Regions from separate parts of the Homo sapiens genome. Here region 1 is linked to region 2. The links are contacts of gene promoters, found by promoter capture Hi-C in human tissues and cell types (Jung and others, 2019). All regions are on one chromosome and are shown on one strand. Each heading gives the region's core, a stretch centred on a gene start or on the middle of the fragment in contact. The rest is flanking DNA. Distances are from core to core; before and after follow the strand shown. Region 1 overlaps ZNF655 (zinc finger protein 655). Region 2 holds the start of ZSCAN21 (zinc finger and SCAN domain containing 21).

Region 1 (5,477 bases), core at 2,833-5,332, 480 kb before region 2:
TAAATGTCCCACAGGATTTCAGAAACACAGTAAATACCTTTCTTCTATCTATTCTGATCTCCTTGCTCATAGGCTCTCACATGGAATCTTTGGGGCAGCTGTCAGTTCTTCATATTTTCCAGCCCCAATGCCCTTTTTATAAAATTGGGTAGCTGTTAATACATTGATACTTGGGCGCACAGAGTTGGCACTCAATAAGTAGCCGTTAAGTAAATTAATCAAAAGAATTGCAAGATACAAGATACCTGGTCCCTTCTATCAAAGAGTTTATAAATCAAGTATGAATGACAATACCTGAAACCACTTAAAAAAAAATCTATGTAAACACCGTTATATGTGACATGTCAGGATAAGAGGGAACAACTAATAAATTTTGTACACATTCAGTAAATGGAGAGAAAGGTTTTTGGAGATGAGGGGCTTGAGCCAGACCTTGTATGTGTGCTATTAGAAGCTTTCTGGGCTGGACACATTTAAAAACTGCCCTTTGATACTAATAGTATTAAAATTCTGTCTCCTTGGAAGCAGACTGCCTGTTGCTTTAGCTTTAAAAGAGATTTATATCCAAGCATTGCATTATGCAAGCCATAGAAAGACTGTTTTATGTGAAGATGCACTGATTGCACTTCCCTCTCTATATTTTATTGTAGTTAGTTGTTTAGAGCTGTCTCTGTGTAGAGTGTGAGGTCCTTGAGGGAAGGGACCTTCTTGGCCTCTTATCCCCTGCATACTTTGCATAGAGGAGGCACTTCATAAATGTTTGTTGAATAAATGCTACACTCCTAATGGGTAAGAATGTGTCATATTACTCTTTGTTTTCTTATGTGTACTGAAACAAATTGTTTCTTGAGATTGGTCCTTAGAATATTTATTCAGTTTTCACTGATTCTCTTGCTACAGGTTAGCTAACCATGCAGCAGGTGCTTGAGTTTCACCTTTCTCCAGTCCAGCAGAATTACATTTTGATGACCTCCATTTTGATACTTGTAGACCAGATCTAATCCGAAGATTAATCTTTAGGTAACAGATGGAGAGTGATAATGATAACTTCTGTGAAGACAAACCCATGCACACATTCTGTTGTCTGAATAATATTTAAATGAATCCTTCTGCTCCCAAGTCATCAACTTGCCCCTTAACACACATCCCTCTAGAGCACAAATCTGAGCTCCTTGTAGATCTTTGCCCTCTTCACTCTCCAGACCTTCCTAATTAATGTCTTCTCAGAATCGACCTTCTGTCTCTCTTAATCATTAGTTAAAAGAAAAAGTGGCAGATGTAGGACCTGGGGATACATTGCCACATCCCATTTCCTTCTCTATGAGCAGGATTTCCAATTTCCAAGCCTGATGGGATCTCCCAGCTGGAACAGGATCTACAGGTCTTTGATCTGGAAACTAAGACTAGAGAAGTCTTAAGAGATGACTGCTCAGGTGAGTAAGGCAGAATCAGATAGAATTAGTAGGGAAGTAAAGTTCAATTGTTGAGCCAAGTTGTAGCTGCTTTGGCACTCAGAATGAAGAGCTCTGTGTGTGTCCTAGCATGGAGAGTTCCTTCCTTTTCCCTTCAGTTAGGTTGACCCTTTCCATTTGTTTAGTATCCGTGCACATGTCGTACTAGACCCCAATCAAGTTGCTTATCTAAAATTCTTTCAGCTGTTTCCCTATTATTTCCTTACTCTGCTGAACATGTCCGCTGTTTTACCTCACTGCTCCTGTTTATGCCCTTAACTTCTGCTGTTGAGATTTTGTGCCTGTTTTTCAGAGTAAATAAACTTTTCTTGTCCTTGTAGATACTACATTGTTTAGTTTTCTCATCTGAGTTTTCTTTTCCTAAGCACAGGGTACAGATTACATTTGCATTTTCTATTTATATATTGTATCAGATGGAGAGACCAGAGAAGAGAACAAGCTGTTGATTCCTAAGCAGAAAATTTCGGAAGAAGTGCATTCATACAAAGTGAGAGTAGGAAGACTCAAACACGATATTACCCAAGTTCCTGAGACTAGAGAAGTGTATAAGTCTGAGGACAGATTAGAAAGACTTCAGGAAATTCTAAGGAAATTTCTGTACCTGGAGAGAGAGTTTAGGCAAATAACAATCAGCAAGGAAACCTTCACCAGTGAGAAGAACAATGAATGTCATGAACCCGAAAAAAGCTTCAGTCTGGACTCTACTATTGATGCAGATCAGAGAGTTCTTAGAATACAGAATACCGATGACAATGATAAGTATGACATGAGCTTCAACCAGAATTCAGCCTCTGGTAAACATGAACACTTAAATCTAACAGAGGATTTTCAGAGTAGTGAATGTAAGGAAAGCTTAATGGATCTCTCCCACCTTAATAAATGGGAGAGCATCCCTAACACTGAGAAATCCTATAAATGTGATGTATGTGGGAAAATTTTCCATCAGAGCTCAGCCCTTACTAGACATCAGAGAATCCATACTAGAGAGAAGCCCTACAAATGTAAAGAATGTGAAAAGTCTTTCAGTCAGAGCTCAAGTCTTAGTCGACATAAAAGAATACACACTAGAGAAAAACCTTACAAATGTGAAGCATCTGATAAATCCTGTGAAGCGTCTGATAAATCCTGTAGTCCAAGCTCAGGCATAATTCAGCATAAGAAAATTCACACCAGAGCCAAATCTTACAAATGTAGCAGTTGTGAAAGAGTCTTCAGTCGTAGTGTCCACCTTACTCAACATCAGAAAATTCACAAAGAGATGCCCTGTAAGTGTACTGTATGTGGCAGTGACTTCTGCCATACTTCATACCTACTTGAACATCAGAGGGTCCATCATGAAGAGAAAGCCTATGAGTATGATGAATATGGGTTGGCCTATATTAAACAACAAGGAATTCATTTCAGAGAAAAGCCCTATACGTGTAGTGAATGTGGAAAAGACTTCAGATTGAATTCACATCTTATTCAGCATCAAAGAATTCACACAGGAGAGAAAGCACATGAATGTAATGAATGTGGAAAAGCTTTCAGTCAAACCTCATGCCTTATTCAGCATCACAAAATGCATAGGAAAGAGAAATCGTATGAATGTAATGAGTATGAGGGCAGTTTCAGTCATAGCTCAGATCTTATCCTGCAACAAGAAGTCCTCACCAGACAGAAAGCCTTTGATTGTGATGTATGGGAAAAGAACTCCAGTCAGAGAGCACATCTAGTTCAACATCAGAGCATTCATACCAAAGAGAACTCATGAATGTAATGAAGATGGGAAGATATTTATCAAATTCAGGCTTCATTCAGCATCTGAGAGTTCACACCAGGGAGAAATCATGTATGTACTGCATGTGGTAAAGCCTTCAGTCATAGCTCAGCCATTGCTCAGCATCAGATAATTCACACCAGAGAGAAACCCTCTGAATGTGACGAATGAAGAAAAGGTATTAGTGTTAAACTCTTAATCGACTCCTGCAAATCTATACCAGTGAGAAATCTTACAAATGTATTGAATGTGGCAAATTTTTCATGCTATTAGTATTTTCATACCTTAGTCACATTTGGAGAATTCACATGGGAATAAAATTCCATTGCTGCAATGAATGTGAAAAAGCCATCAGTCAAAGAAACTACCTTGTTTAGTATCAAATTCACGCCATGCAAAAAGATTATAAATGTAATAAGCATGTATGTGTGTGAGGAGATTCAGTCATAACCCAACGCTCATTCAACATCAAAGAATTTATACCTAAGAGAACTTATTTGGGTGTAGTAAATGGCAGATCTTTCAATAGGAGTTTAACTAGTCTTTGTCATATCAGAATATCCATAGTAGACAAGAATTTGATGTAACGCAAATGGAAAAACTCGACACCACATTTCAGGCTTTACCCAACATCGAAATAATGGAGAGAAAATTGTTGATTATTTGTTTATGAAATTGTTAATACATAGTCCCAATCTTTTTCATTGCACAAAAATCTAGGGTTGACTTGGTAAATGCAGTGACATTTTCTCATGGAGTTCCTTTATTTAATATGTATTCTAAGTAGGTACGTTTATTTTTACTTTTTTATTATAATTTTGATATTAAAAAGAACAGAGATGGGGTCTTGCTTTGTTGCCCAGGCTGGTCTTGAACTCCTGGCCTCAAGCGATCCTCCCACCTGTCCTCCCAAAGTGCTGGGGTTACAGGCGTGTGTCACTGTGCTGGGCCTATTTTATTTATAGAACTCATTTAAGCTGTTTTTATTTTAATATGCCCTATAAACATTTTTATATTTTTTGAAATTGGTTCTTAGTGTTCACAACTTCCATAAGATACTGCTAATGCACCAGTATTAAAACACATCGACGTAAGTAGCTCATTTAGCTTTTTCTGCTGTTCTTGGCCCAAGTTCTTTCCAAAACCAACTCTTAGGCCTGCTCTTTACTAGGGATCTTATGTCGTATTGCTTTACAGCCACAACACTTGGATTCCTGTTGATTAACTTCTCCATTCTCTTAAGCACCTTTAGAAGATTTAGAAGTTTCCTAGTTTTAAGTGTTTCACCAGCAAGTATTCCATACCTACTTGATGTTGCTGGTCTGGTGTCTTATTTCCTAAAGTGAAGCATCTTTTTTTAAAAAAGAATTTGATTGACAATATATCCAGTCCAATATAAGTATGAAGGATTCTCTCTCCTGAGATTGTAGCAGGCAGCCAAACATTTTCAAATGATGCCCAAGGTTTTAGCTGTCTTGTGTGCATCCACAGTCTGCGAAGAAGACATGATAAGGACATCAGGGAGCCAACAAGACTCCTAATAGCCTCACTACATTCATCCAGTGCCTATTCTGCATGCCTAAGCTTAGAGTTCTTTTATATACCTCTACGGCCAGCAAAATGCTCAGGTCTGCTCTTGGTAGGGTAAACATAAAGAAGATACACAGGCCGGGCATGGTGGCTCACACCTGTAATCCCAGCACTTTGGGAGGCTGAGGCGGATGGATCACGAGGTCAGGCAGTCGAGACCATCCTGGCCAACATGGTGAAACCCCGTCTCTACTAAAAATACAAAAGTTAGCCGGGTGTGGTGGCACGCGCCTGTAATCCCAGCTACTCAGGAGGCTGAGGCAGGAGAACTGCTTGAACCTGGGAGGCGGAGGTTGCAGTGAGCCGAGATTGCACCACTGCACTCCAGCCTGGGCGACAGAGCAGGACTCTCTCTCAAAAAAACACAAAAAAACAAAAACAAAAAACCATACACACACACACACACACACAAATCAGCATCATAAGGGAATGTAGCCTTCCAACAGAGATGATGCTGTTCGTATGTTAATCTCAGAGACAGTATTTCAAGAGAGTGGCAGGTCTGTTCCTGGTAAAATTTTAACCATTAGGATTGCAGATAAATGTTTGAATTCTGCTCCTCTCTCATCAATCCAGGACAGTATTTGAAGTGTGAGGGCTTTGTGTATAGTTGTTTATCCATTACCACATTTTTGTATTTTAATAGTCTACAGGCT
Region 2 (5,272 bases), core at 1,212-3,711:
AGCACTTTGGGAGGGCGAGGCGGGCAGATCATGAGGTCAGGAGATCAAGACCATCCTGGCCAACATGGTGAAACCCTGTCTCTACTAAAATACAAAAAAAAATAAAAAATTACCCGAGCGTGGTGGTGCGCGCCTGTAGTCCCAGCTACTCGGGAGGCTGAGGCAGAGGAATCGCTTGAACCTAGGAGGCGGAGGTTGCAGTGAGCCTAGATTGCACCACTGCACTCCAGCCTGGCGACAGAGTAAGACTCCATCTCAAAAAAAAAAAAGAAAGAAACAAAAGAATGCACATGGAGGCTCATTTTCTCTAATTTTGCATGTCTTTAAACATAAAAAATTTTTAAATTATCCTGGAAAATGTCAGGGAAAAATGATATTGAGTATCTATGAATTCATGACGCGTATGGACAGGGAATTCCACGTGCAGGCAGCCATATTGGTGTTCCTCAACACATGTGAGTTTTGCAGGACCAGACAAAAGCAAACTCACAGGGGGCCCGATGGAGTAGTGCTGAGGTGGAAAATACAGACTCTTCAGTCTGGAAACCTGCAGCTGAGCCAGAGCAGCAGGAGGAAAAGGCAGGCAAAGACATCTTCATCGAGTCCTGCAGCATTGGAAGGAGTTCAGCCCCTAGGTCTTCTGCTCAGGAAGTTTAGGACCCACAGAAGGGCAAGGCTACTTCTGATTGATGTCACCATGACCCTGGTCTGCAAAGTTGAGGACTAAACTCTGACTGTTTTCTTCTTTTGCCCAAATTACTATCTAAGGGGCCTGGAGAGTCACCCCCTTCAAACCATAAAGCCTCATCAGACAGGTTTTATTTAACTTTATATAACCTGGCTGACTTTTCAACCAGGCTCTGGCATAACATCACATGGCAGATAAAGAAGGAAACGAAAATATTTCCACCCCAAATATGTTTTTTTGCCATATCTTGAAATAACCCTACCAAGCTGTCTTCTCGTGGGGAAAATCTACACTTGGTAGAGAATCCCCTTCCCTTTCCAGGCCTTTTTCCTGATCCAGGAGAGAATCAACTGGGCGTCTGGCACTTTTTAAAGTCTGATAAGAAATATTTGCAGTCTGTTCTTTCTGAAGCCGGCTGCCTGGAGGCTCCATCTGCATAATGGGAACCCTGGTCTCCACAACCCCTTAGTTCAGCGGTCCCCAACCTTTTTTGGCACCAGGAACCAGTTTTGTGGAAGACAGTTTTTTCCATGGATGGCAGGAGGGGGATGGATGGTTTCGTGGTTTCAGGATGATTCAAGCACATTACATTTATTGTGTACTTTATTTCTATTATTATTACATTGTAATATATCATGAAATAATTGTACAACTCATCATAACATAGAATTAGTGGGAGCCCTGAGTTTGTTTTCCTGTAATTAGAGGGTTCCATTGGGGAATTATGGGAGACAGCGACAGATCATCAGGTATTAGATTCTCATAAAGAGTGCACAACCTAGATCCCTCGCATGCACTGTCCACAATAGGGTTTGTGCTCCTGTAAGAATCTAATGCTATGGCTGATCTGACAGGAGGCGGAGCTCAGGCAGTAATTAGAGCAATGGGGAGTGGCTGTAGATACAGGTGAAGCTTTGCTCCTGCAGCTCACCTCCTGCAGTAACGGCCCAGTTCCTAACAGGCCATGGACTGGTATCTGTCTGTGCCCCAAGGGTTGGGGACCCCTGCCTTAGTCATCCCAGACATTCCTTTCTATTGATTATAGGTCTTTAGACAATAACTTTCAGCCAGTTGCCCATTAGAAGATCCTTGAGTTCACCTATGACTTGGAACATCCCCGCTTGGAATTGTCCTGCCTTTCCCACAGAACCAATGTTCATCTTACATGTCTTGATTGGTGTCTTATGTCTCCCTAAATTGTATAAACCCAAGCTGTAGCCCGACCATCATAGGTACATGTTCTTAGGACCTCTTGAGACTGTACCTTGGGCCATTGGTCACTCATATTTGTCTCAAAATAAATGTCTTCAAATATTTTACAGTTTGATTGTTTTCATCAACGAAGTATTAACTCAATCTCTGGCTTCACGGGCCAAGCACAGCGTTCCATGTCCATAAACCTGGACCGAGGAGCTGGGCCCAAGGGTATCCAGTGACCTCGATCCAGGTTTATGGACAAGGAACCCTGTGCTTATCCCAAGGGTACTCAGGGACCTTGGGCTCTGAAGTCCACGAGGGTGACCGAGGTGGCTGCCTCAGCCCATGCCCTCCCTGCCCCAGGGCGTCGGGGTTGGGTGAGAGAACCGCCGCAGCCTTCATCTGGTCTGACCGTCTTCGGTAAAAACAGAAAGAGTCCCTGGCTTTTCATTTTCGGGGTGGACTCAACTCCTCCCTGATGTCCCAAGGGCCAGAGACACAGAGAGGACCTCCCGAATTTCTAGAGGGGCCGCTACGGCCCCGCACTACTTTTCCGCGGGGGCGGGGCTATGACGCACTTCCGGGTGCGCGGTCCCGAGGTACGCGGTGCGGTCTCCCGGTACCCGGAGCGGCTCTGATTCATGGTGAGCCTGCTGGTCGCGGGTTAGCGAGGCGGACAGGAGAGGGAGCCGTGGCTGAATGGTCTGGGGAGGGAGGAGTGGGTTTAGCAGCTGTGGCTTCCGAGGACCCCACCTAGACCGGTCCTAGCAGGGCTGTGGGGAGGAGCTCCTCGTCCCCGCCCAGGACCAGCTGGTGGGGGCGCTGGCTGCCTGGAAAGCCTTTTCTTCCACTTGGGGCTTTAACAAATGAAAGCTGGAAGAACAGATGTTTTGGAAGTTCTTTCGCGTTCCAGAATAGTTTTTTTTGTGCGTTCCCCAAGCCAAGCCGTCTATCAGTCTGACCGTGGCCGCCTTTTTTCCCTTTCTCTGAACTGGAGGTCCGAACGCAAGGCTCATTGATGGCAATACGCCCAAGGTGTTGGAAACCTGTGGGAAGCCGAACCTCATTAGAAGTGTTGGGTAGAATCAAATCCAAGGGAAGAAATAGTCCCCTCGGGCTTTGTTCGGGCTAGAACACACACACAGAATAGGGATCTGCTCATGGTTTAGAAAAACAGTCTTAAAGAACCATGTATAAATAAAAGAGTGTCAGGACAAAGTTGATTTGGGCCAGGCGCGGTGGCTCACGCCTGTAATCCCAGCAGTTCGGGAGGCCGAGGCCGGCGGATCACTTGAGGTCAGGAGTTCGAGACCAGCCTGGCCAAACCCTGTCCCCACGAAAAATACAAAAATTAGCTGGGTGTGGTGGAGCGCGCCTGTAATCCCAGCTACTCAGGAGGCTGAGGCAGGAGAATCGCTTGAACCCACCAGGTGGAGGTTGCACTGAACCGAGATCACGCCACTGCACTCCAGCCTGGGCGACAGAGCAACACTTGGTCTCACAAAAAAAAAGAACGTTGATTTGATGGGTGAGGTACTTGGAAACCCACGAAATCTAAGGAACAGTTGAGCTGTGGAGAGGAAAAGAATTAAGAGGCAAGATAATTGTTTTCAAGTGTTGGAAGGCTGCTATGGAGAAAGTGAGTATTGGTCTTGGACTAACCTAGGATTTTTGAAATGATGCGGAATTTGATTCAGGTTAAAGAATTTGTGTGGCCGGGCGCGGTGGCTCATGCCTGTAATCCAGCACTTTGGGAGGCCGAGGCGAGTGCATCACCTGAGGTCGGGAGTTCGAGACCAGCCTGACCAACATGGAGAAACCCCGTCTCTACTACAAATACAAAATTAGGCGGGCGTGGTGGCACATGCCTGTAAGGAGGCTGAGGCAGGAGAATCGCTTGAACCTGGGAGGCAGAGGTTGCGGTGAGCCGAGATCGCGCCATTGCACTCCAGCCTGGGAAACAAGAGTGAAACTACGTCTCAAAAAAAAAAAAAAAAAAAAAAAAAGGAAGAACTTGTAACAATTAGTGGAATTCTGTGGCTCAAGAATTATCTAATTTGGCTGCCTAGGGATCTAGGGATTTTCTTTTTTTTTTTTTTTTTTTTTTTTTTTTTGAGATGGAGTCTCGCTCTGTCGCCTAGGTTGGAATGCAGTGGCGCGATCTCGGCTCACTGCAAGCTCCGCCTCCCGGGTTCTAGCCATTCTCCTGCCTCAGCCTCCCAAGTAGCTGGGACTACAGGCGCCCGCCACAACGCCTGGCTAATTTTTTGTATTTTTTAGTAGAGACGGGGTTTCACCGTGTTAGCCAGAATGGTCTCGATCTCCTGACCTCGTGATCTGCCCGCCTCGGGCCTCCCAAAGTGCTGGAATTACAGGTGTGAGCCACGGCGCCGGGCCCCCTAGGGATTTTCAGGTACGGACTGAGTGTGAAGCATTTTAGCACAAGTGGGTAAGTGCTGTTCTACTTTTAGAATCTATGGTAATTTGATTTTTTTATGCCTCATCTTGTTACAGAATGGACTTGGGGCGCTTTCATAAGGGCATATAAGCTGTGGGAGATTGGCATAAAGGAGGAGGGAAAATGGACACAGAACAAGGGCCTTCTGTTTATGATAGACCATGAACTTTTGCTTGATGGACTTCTTGAGATAAACAGTCTAGATAGCTTTTAAAAAGTCACTGTGATTGTAGACAATGTGAGTTAGTAATGAAGCATTTGATTTCTAGCCGCATGCTTCTTTATTTTTTTAAGAGACAGGGTTTTCCTTTGTCACCCAGGCTGGAGCACAGTGGTACAGCCACAACTCTGCAGCCCGGAACTCCTGAGCTCAAGTTATGCCTCAGCCTGGGCAACAAAGCAAGACTTCGTTTCTACAAAAATAAGTAAATCAATAAATAAATTTTTTTTAATTAGCTAGATGTGGTGATGCACACCTGTAGTCCTGGCTACTTTGGAGGCTGAGGTGAGAGGATCGCTTGAGGCCAGGAGTTCAACGCTGCAGTGAGCTGTCATGGCACCACTACACGCCAGCCTGGGCAACAAAGCGAGACCCTGCCTCTGTAATTGAAAAACAATAAAATAAAGACCCAGTGAAGTGGTTCACGCCTGTAACCCCAGAACTTTGAGAGACCAAGGCAAGAAGATGGCTTGAGACTAGGAGTTCAAGACTTCCGTGAGCTGTGATTGTGCCACTGCACTCCAGTCTAGGCAACAGGCTAAGACACTGTCTCTAAAAAATAAAAAAATTAAATTAAAAAAAAAAAGTGAAAGAGGATTCGGGATGACCCCAGGTTTTTCGGTCCAAGTAAAAAGAACAATGAGAGTTGCCATTAGCTGAGATGAGCAGCTTTTGAGGGAGAGATGGGAATTCCATTTTGGACATGTTA

The links. The method cuts DNA at HindIII sites, captures the fragments that hold promoters and counts their contacts. A contact is called where the count stands out against the background at its distance.
Region 1: a contact is called between a fragment that was not itself captured here and the fragment with the promoter of ZSCAN21 in region 2, in 2 of the 25 tissues and cell types used here (dorsolateral prefrontal cortex and hippocampus).

Annotation. Positions count from the first base shown.
Region 1 is chr7:99,570,360-99,575,836 of GRCh38, forward strand. ZNF655 (zinc finger protein 655) reads left to right here. Exons shown (of 3, transcript NM_138494.3): 3 at 1,886-5,477. The coding sequence ends at 3,225. Among named protein-coding and RNA genes, the nearest start is that of ZNF655, 14 kb to the left of the region's middle. The HindIII fragment of the contact is 3,683 bases long and covers 2,242-5,477 here.
Region 2 is chr7:100,047,313-100,052,584 of GRCh38, forward strand. It overlaps ZSCAN21 (zinc finger and SCAN domain containing 21), which reads left to right and starts at 2,462. Exons shown (of 4, transcript NM_145914.3): 1 at 2,462-2,529. RefSeq lists an enhancer at 2,364-2,983. The HindIII fragment of the contact is 16,971 bases long and covers 1-5,272 here.